2 separate regions of the Homo sapiens genome follow, and region 2 is linked to region 1. The links are contacts of gene promoters, found by promoter capture Hi-C in blood cells and fetal thymus (Javierre and others, 2016). All regions are on one chromosome and are shown on one strand. The core of a region is centred on a gene start or on the middle of the fragment in contact, and the rest is flanking DNA. Distances in the headings are between cores, read along the strand shown.

Region 1 (3,620 bases), core at 615-3,114:
AAAATGCTGATTCGGATGCCCAGGGCTGGGTGACTTTCCACTCTCCCTGCTGTCGTCTGACATGGCTATCATCATCTCCACGTGCTCCCAAGGCCACCTTGATGCAGCATCTACTAACTCAACAAGTACTAGCTAGGCTTGCCATGGGCCAGGCCCGATGCTGGGGCTGAGCATGCGATGGGGACCAGAACAGACCTGGTCCCTGCCTCAAGGGGACTGTACCCCACGAAAGTGGGGAAATGGACTTCATGCAGATCATCATACACGTCTAGGGTATGAAGCTTATGTGTGACTGAGCTGGGAACCCGAAGCCTTATGCTTTGCAGCCGTCATCCAGGGCTTTGACTTGGGTAGAGACACAGTATACTTGAGCTGGGAGGGACAGTTCTGTTGGAGTGAATGAGGCCAAGAAGTCAGGAGGAGGATCTGCGCAGGGGCAAGGAGAGACCACAGGCAGGAAGAAGTGTTCAAAGACAGGGATGGAAAGGACATCCTGAGTCCAGGAGGTCAACAGAGAATGTGGCATCTGGGAAGGCCAGGGCAGTAGCACTGTGTCATAGCCCTTGAGTCTCAGTGTCTGCCTTCTCCATAAGAACACCAGCTCTGGGGGCAGGGACCATGCTTGCTTTATTCCTTGCCAATCTCTAAATACCAGCACAGTACTGACATACAGTAGGTGCTCAATAAATGTTTGTAAACTAGATAAAAAGTGCCTCATAGATATTGTCTCATTTACTCTTAACAACAACCCAGTGGAATCAGGATTATCAGCATCCGCATTTTGCCAGTGAGGGAATGGAGGCTCTGGGAGATTGAGAACCTCAGCCAAGTCACGCGTTGAGTAAACCATGGAGGCAGGATTTGCACCCAGGGCTGCTCTGACCCTCAAACCCATATTCTCAACCCGTGTGCCACTTTGCTTTGGCCTCTTTTTCTAGCAGATTCTTTATCTCTTGGAGCTGCTGCTACCACCTCCATGAATACAACCGGGCCATTGGTATGCGAACCTACGTGCTCCCTGTACCGGCTGCCTGCTCATCTATGCATATTTCGTTATTAAAATGGGGATACTTCAATCTCCGAATAATTTTGTCTTTAGGGAAGCTCCGTCCCCAGCTGCCCACAGCGAAAGCCCCCAGGAAGCAGGCACCTACTTGTGATTCAGGCCACCGTGTCCATCTGTCAACACGGTTGTCTCCTGTATCTGCCATCTCTTATTTATAATCCCGCTCAGATTAATGAATGACAGTAGTTCTCATCACAGGAAATTTGATTAATCAATTTAAGTGCTTAATCACCACAGCCTTGCTGAGCGCTGAGCATAAGGGATCTCACTTTGATGCAGATGAATTTCAGGAAGAACTGGGAGAGTAGAAACAAAATTGTCAGCACTTCTCCATGGAAACCCCATGGAGGTTTCAGGGCTGAGGACAGCGCTGGGGAAGTCCTGGGGCCCCCAGAAGCCAGAGGTGGGGTAACAAGAGGATGGGTGGATGACTTACGCAGGGAGCAGCCCTCTGAAACCGCCGGAATCGAGGCCTCCTTTGCACCTTGATTCCACCCAGAGTCTGCGCCTACGCTTTGGGCAGGGGAGGCAGAACCCACGTTGGTCTAAGAGCAGGGAGAAGTGGGCATGATCCTACCATGCTGCAGGGCCTCGGGATGGGGATGGGATTTGCTGCTCTTTGTGCCCAATTAATGAGCGAGACGAACAAGCACACTGAGTAGCTTCCTGCCAGCCGTCCCCTTTGGCAGCAAACTCATCCCCACCTCTGGGCCTTGGCTCGAGTTGTTAGCCAACTCAACCTTGAAGCCGTCCCTTCCTATCAGCCCATGCAAATTCTGCCATCAGCCAAGGACCGCCTCTTCCTCTTCCGGGAAGCTGACTTCAAGCCATGCCCTTCCCTTTTGCAAGCTCCCGTGGCTCGCGACCCGCAGCCCACCCCTGCACCAGTGGACACTGCGGGATGGCCTGGCCTCGGCTCTGCATTTTCACTTCTCTTAGCTCTCATCTCCTCCACCACAGAGACAGCTCTGTCTGAGTATCTTTCTGATACTGTTCTTTATCCCCCAGGACTGGCCCAGCCCAGGGCGGTGCGTACAGCAGACACTTAATGTAACACAGTAGCAGCTTTTAATTTCTCAGGCCAATGAGATACAGACAGTCACTGGTATGGTAGTTTTTCAGTCAAGCATCAAGGGTGTGTGCCCCTGGGGGACATTGCAAAATGCTGGGTGTGGGGAGCAGTTTGAACAGCAACATTCAATATTACACCATGTTTTCATTTTTCAAATGCAGGAAGAACTTATTAGTTTGAATTACAAACAACAGAAGTAGAAAACTCCACAAGGAAAAATCTCAGCTGGTGAAGAAGCTCAGGAGCTCACAGAAGGTGAGCACTTGGGGGTAAGTGGGCTGGGCACCTCAGGAGTTTTGTGATGTCCAAAAGGAGATGTGGGTGACGTAGGGTTTAAAACCCGCACCTGTAGGACCAGTCAAATGGAGACAGAGTTGGCTTCCCAGAGCTACCGCAAGGGCACGAGGTAGGAGGACCAAGCTACCAGTTACTGAATGGGCACTGAGCAGCTATAATGTGTGCACTAAGCTTGTCCTGTCTTAATCCCAAAACAGTGTGATGAAGTAATCAAACCATCGCCATCGGCTAAGGAAACCGAGGGGTGCAGAGCTGATGTCGCTTGGCCCGCAAGCCACGGAGAGTGGGAGCAAGAGGAGGTTTGGTCAGGCTGCCTCTGCCCCTGTCTTTCTCGGCCCACAGGCTCCAAGCAGGCAGGACCAGACCGCAGCTTCCAGGTGCTGGGATCCGGGGACCACACCTTCACCTGCTGCTCTCTTGAAGGAAAAACAAATATCTGCCTCTGGCAGGTAAAAAAAAAATAAAAGGAGTGCGTCTCATGCTGTTTGTGATAGCTGCTACACAGAGAAAGACTAATTTTGGAAACCGATTATTAAAAAATATATTCACTCTGAACGACGCAATCAATCAAACCTTCAAGATGCAGGTTCAGCCGGTGCCGTGGAACTCCCAGGCAACACACGGCTCCTTCCCAGGCTGCTGTCTGGCCCGGCCAGGCCTCCTTCCCACTGGGACTGTCCCAGCTCTGCCCTGGGGACATTGGCCTCCGGCCTGCCCAGGCTGCAGTGAGGATGGAGAGGGAAGAGGTCGGGGCTCCCGATTGCTGACTGGTCAGGAGGCAGCTGCGGAGTCAGGATTGAAGCCGCATCGGCTCCCATGCCATGAAGTGGACAAAGTGGACACCTCTCCCCACCAGGTAGTGGGCACAGAGCCCAAGACACACTGGTAGGAGCAGTCCCTAGCCTGCCCTCTCGCCTATGCCACGGGGCCAGTGCCACCTGAGCCATGGGCTAATGTGCCAGAGATGTGGGGCACATGGGATGCCCAGTGCGGGTACCCGCCCAGTGCTGCCTGCGTTCCAGGAGCCACCTGCCTCCCTTGCCACTGAGACAGGCCTGCTGGGCCTCAACAAAGCCTCACGGAATTCTAGCGATGATTCTGTGAAGGGATCTCCGAGCTCACTGGGGCCTCTTCATTTTGCAAATGAGGAAGCCAAGGTTGGAGATGCAGCTCACGTGACTCCGA
Region 2 (3,620 bases), core at 803-3,302, 3.3 Mb after region 1:
CGGCTTTACGGCATCACACAGACACTTCCACGGGAGTCTCCGTGGCAGCCGTGGAGAACCCGCGCACTCCTCGGCTTCTTACGGGGCCTTCCCAGAAGCATCCGCTCTTCCAGAGGTTTTCACCTGAGCAGCACAGAGACCTTGTTCTAATACAGGCCTTGCAGCCCAGGTGCCTCACGCCTCGCACCGTCTGGGGGAAGGAGCATCCATGGAATGTCATCATAAATAGACAAATAAGTCTATACACACACAGAGACAGAAAGAGAGACACAGGGATAGACAAAGAGAGACAGAGACGGAGAGTCAGAGAGAGACCCACAGAGAGGGAGACACACAGACAGACAGGGAGGCAGAGAAAGAGTCAGACAGAAGCAGAGACAGGGCAAGAAAGAGACAGAGCCAGACAGAGAGAGAGAGAGAGAGAAACAGAGACAAAGAGAGAGGGAGGCAGTGCGCAGACAAAGGTGGCTCCCAGAGCCGAGGGCCATGAGGGAGTCTTGGTGAGAGAATGTGGCTATTTTGATGGAAACTCACCCCCGACACAGAAAACTAAATCCCCGTTGCAGGCTCACCAGGCAGACCCATGGCATGGCAGGGACCAGACGGGCTCAGGAGGCCTTCCAGCGGGCTCCTCCCTCACAGAGAGGGCAAACAGAGGCCTCCACAGCCACACGCTGTCAGTGGCAGGGCTGGGGACGAGGTGCAGGTTTCCATCGTCTGTTTTTCTTGCTCCACGCCCGGTCTTTGGTCTCCGGGGGCCTCGAGCCACGGCAATCGGTGGGCCCTCCCTAGAGAAGACGTCCAGGCCACTACGAAAACCCACACTGAAGGGCTGCATGGGAGAAACAAGGCAGGATCTAGAAACAGGAGGTTCCAGCTACCAAGAACCTAAATCTCCCTGTTCATTCCTTCGTTCATCCAGCGAGTGCAGAGAAGCTTCACAGTGAGCCGCACTCCACCCAAAGATGAACAGTAGAGACAAACGGTGAAAGGCCGGTTAGAGTCAGCATGACTCAGAGAGAGACGAGCCAGCATGGGGAGGGATGGCGCGCAGCAGGCTTCCCCGAGGAGAGGACTAGGAGGTTGGTGGACGGGAGGCCAGCAACTCAGGGGGATGGGTGGGGAGACGAGTGTGCTCTCTCACACCCAGCACTTCTCCCTCCAGGAGCCCCGGCCGCCCTCACAATTAGGTGGACCAAGTGGCGCGTTCTGGCCAACGGGCTGTGAGCTGGCGTGAAGCGTACCGCTTCTGGCAGGGATGTCTCACTCCTGTATGCAAAGCCCTTCAGCACTGTCTTCCCCAGGGAACAACTGCATTAGGCTGTTCTTGCATTGCTATAGAGAAATGTCTTCGACTGGGTAATTTATAAGAAAGGAGGTTTAATTGGGTCATGGTTCGGCAAGCTGTATGGGAAGCATAGCCCCGGCATCAGCTTCTGGGGAGGCCTCTGGAAGCTTCCAGTCACAGTGGAAGGCAAAGGGGGAGCAGGCATGTCACGTGGTGAAAGCAGGAACAAGAGAGAGAGAGAGTTGGGGGAGGCGCCACACACTTTCCAATGACCAGATGTCACGGGAACTCACTCACTATCATGAGGACAGCACCAAGAGGATGGTGCTAAACCCTTCACGAGAAAGCCCCACCCCCATGGTCCAGTCACCCCCCACCAGGCGCCACCTTCAGTTCTCAGGATGACATTTCCACATGAGATCTGGACAGGGACAGATATCCAAACCATATCAACAGCCAAGAAGCCCACTAGTCCCAGGTAGTGAAGCCATAGCTGGAAGAGCTGCCACCGGCCTGGATCCCTGAGTGGCCTGTGGAGCAGAGACCCTGCCAGCCTGTCATGTGTGTGTACTGTGAGCAATAAACGTGCCATGCCGTGTGTGAGGCAGGCTTAGCCCACAACAGCACTGGCCTCAAGGGAGCACTAAAAATTATTATTTTTATTAAATCTCAACCCTGAGTTTACATCTTTTTAATGTAAATCTTTTTAATCTTCTGTGTGATTAAATGGGAACTATGTATAAAACACTCCTGGTGCAAACCAAAGTAGAATGTTTGTCTCGGAGAAAACCCTTGAGCCCTGTGAAACAACTGTGAGCTGAACTGGCTGCTTTTTATGAAATACCGTTTTTCCTTGAGAGAATAACTAAGAGACAAACTATGGTTATTCAGACATGGGTATTTGGCAGACATTTTCTCAAAATATATAAAGTGAGCCTGTCACTTCAAGGAAAACAACTGACAATATTTGTTGCCAATAATAGAGTTCTGACTTTCAAGGAGAAATTAGAATTTTGGAAGACTCGTATCCACCGCCGGGAGCTCGACAGCTTCCCAGCACTTAAAGGCTTTTGCGATGAAGAACGTGCTGATATTATTGAATGTGATGCTTGATATTGAATGAAGAAATGTGTTAGCATTTGGAAGATCTGCAAAACGCAGTGGAACGGTATTTTCCAGATGACCGTGGTGTGATGTTTCAAAATTACACGTGGGTTAAAAATCTATTCTTTGAATGAAAAAGGAAAAATTACTGACAGGGCTTTCCAATTTCCCACTGCAACTAACCTTTAGAAAACTCCTGCTTATTGACTTCCAGTTTAGCATAAAGAACAGTATCTGCAATTATCTAACAAAGCTTTTAAAATACCCCTCTGTTCCCCAACTACATACCTGTGTGAGGCCATATTTTCTTCATGTATTTTAAACAAAACAACATACTGCAACAGATTGAATACAGAAGGAGTTTTGCAAATCCAGCTGCCTTCTCTCCAACCAAACATTACAGAGATTTGCTGAAAGGTAAAACAAAGCCTCACTTCTCACTATTTGGTGGTGGTGGGGGGGGGGGGTGGTCTATAATTATTTTTATTGAAATCTGTTATTTATGTAAACCTGTAATTAGCTTATTATTATCATCTTTTTGTTTTGTTTTGTTTTGTTTTTGAGACAGAGTCTCGCTCTGTCGCCAGGCTGGAGTGCAGTGGCGCGATCTTGGCTCACTGCAACCTCCACCTCCCGGTTTCAAGCAATTCTCCTGCCTCAGCCTCCCGAGTAGCTGGGATTACAGGCATGTGCCACCACGCCCAGCTAATTTTTGTATTTTTAGTAGAGATGGGTTTTTACCATGTTGGCCTGGCTGGTCTTGAACTCCTGACCTCATGATCTGCCCACCTTGGCCTCCCAAAGTGCTGGGATTACAGGCATGAGCCACTGCGCCCAGCCTATCATTGTTATTTTTAATGAATTAATAAGTACATGAGTTGTAAGTTTCTCAGTTTTTGTCAGTAAAGAAGAAATTATCAATAGAGATAATCCACACCCACCAAAGCTCTGTGGGAACCTCAGTAACTTTTAAAAGTACAAAGGGTTTCTGAGACTAGAACGTAGGGGTCCAAATTCCTGAGCCTGGAGTTCAGGCCATCCACAGTGTCACCCAGCTGACCTCCCCCGCACACCCCTGTCCATGCTGGCTCATGTGTTCCCACACCCTCCTTCCAGAACACCACACCTGCTTCACCTTCCTCACGGTGCAGCTGGGTAGAAACCCTTCCCCACCTCCATGTAAGCTTCTAACCATTCCAAAAGCCCAGCTCAGGCTCCTGCCCCTAGC

Evidence for each region. Contacts are between HindIII fragments. The CHiCAGO score rates a contact against its expected background, and 5 or more counts as called.
Region 2: a contact is called between a fragment that was not itself captured here and the fragment with the promoter of CAMTA1-AS1 in region 1, in 1 of 17 cell types (total CD8 T cells). The highest score is 5.2, in total CD8 T cells.

The regions. Positions count from the first base shown.
Region 1 is chr1:7,439,861-7,443,480 of GRCh38, reverse strand. It overlaps CAMTA1-AS1 (CAMTA1 antisense RNA 1), which reads left to right and starts at 1,864. Exons shown (of 2, transcript NR_187278.1): 1 at 1,864-2,393; 2 at 2,633-2,914. All of the region lies in intron 5 of CAMTA1 (calmodulin binding transcription activator 1), which reads right to left. The HindIII fragment of the contact is 2,325 bases long and covers 284-2,608 here.
Region 2 is chr1:4,125,081-4,128,700 of GRCh38, reverse strand. No RefSeq gene overlaps it. Among named protein-coding and RNA genes, the nearest start is that of LINC02780, 150 kb to the right of the region's middle. The HindIII fragment of the contact is 1,190 bases long and covers 1,458-2,647 here.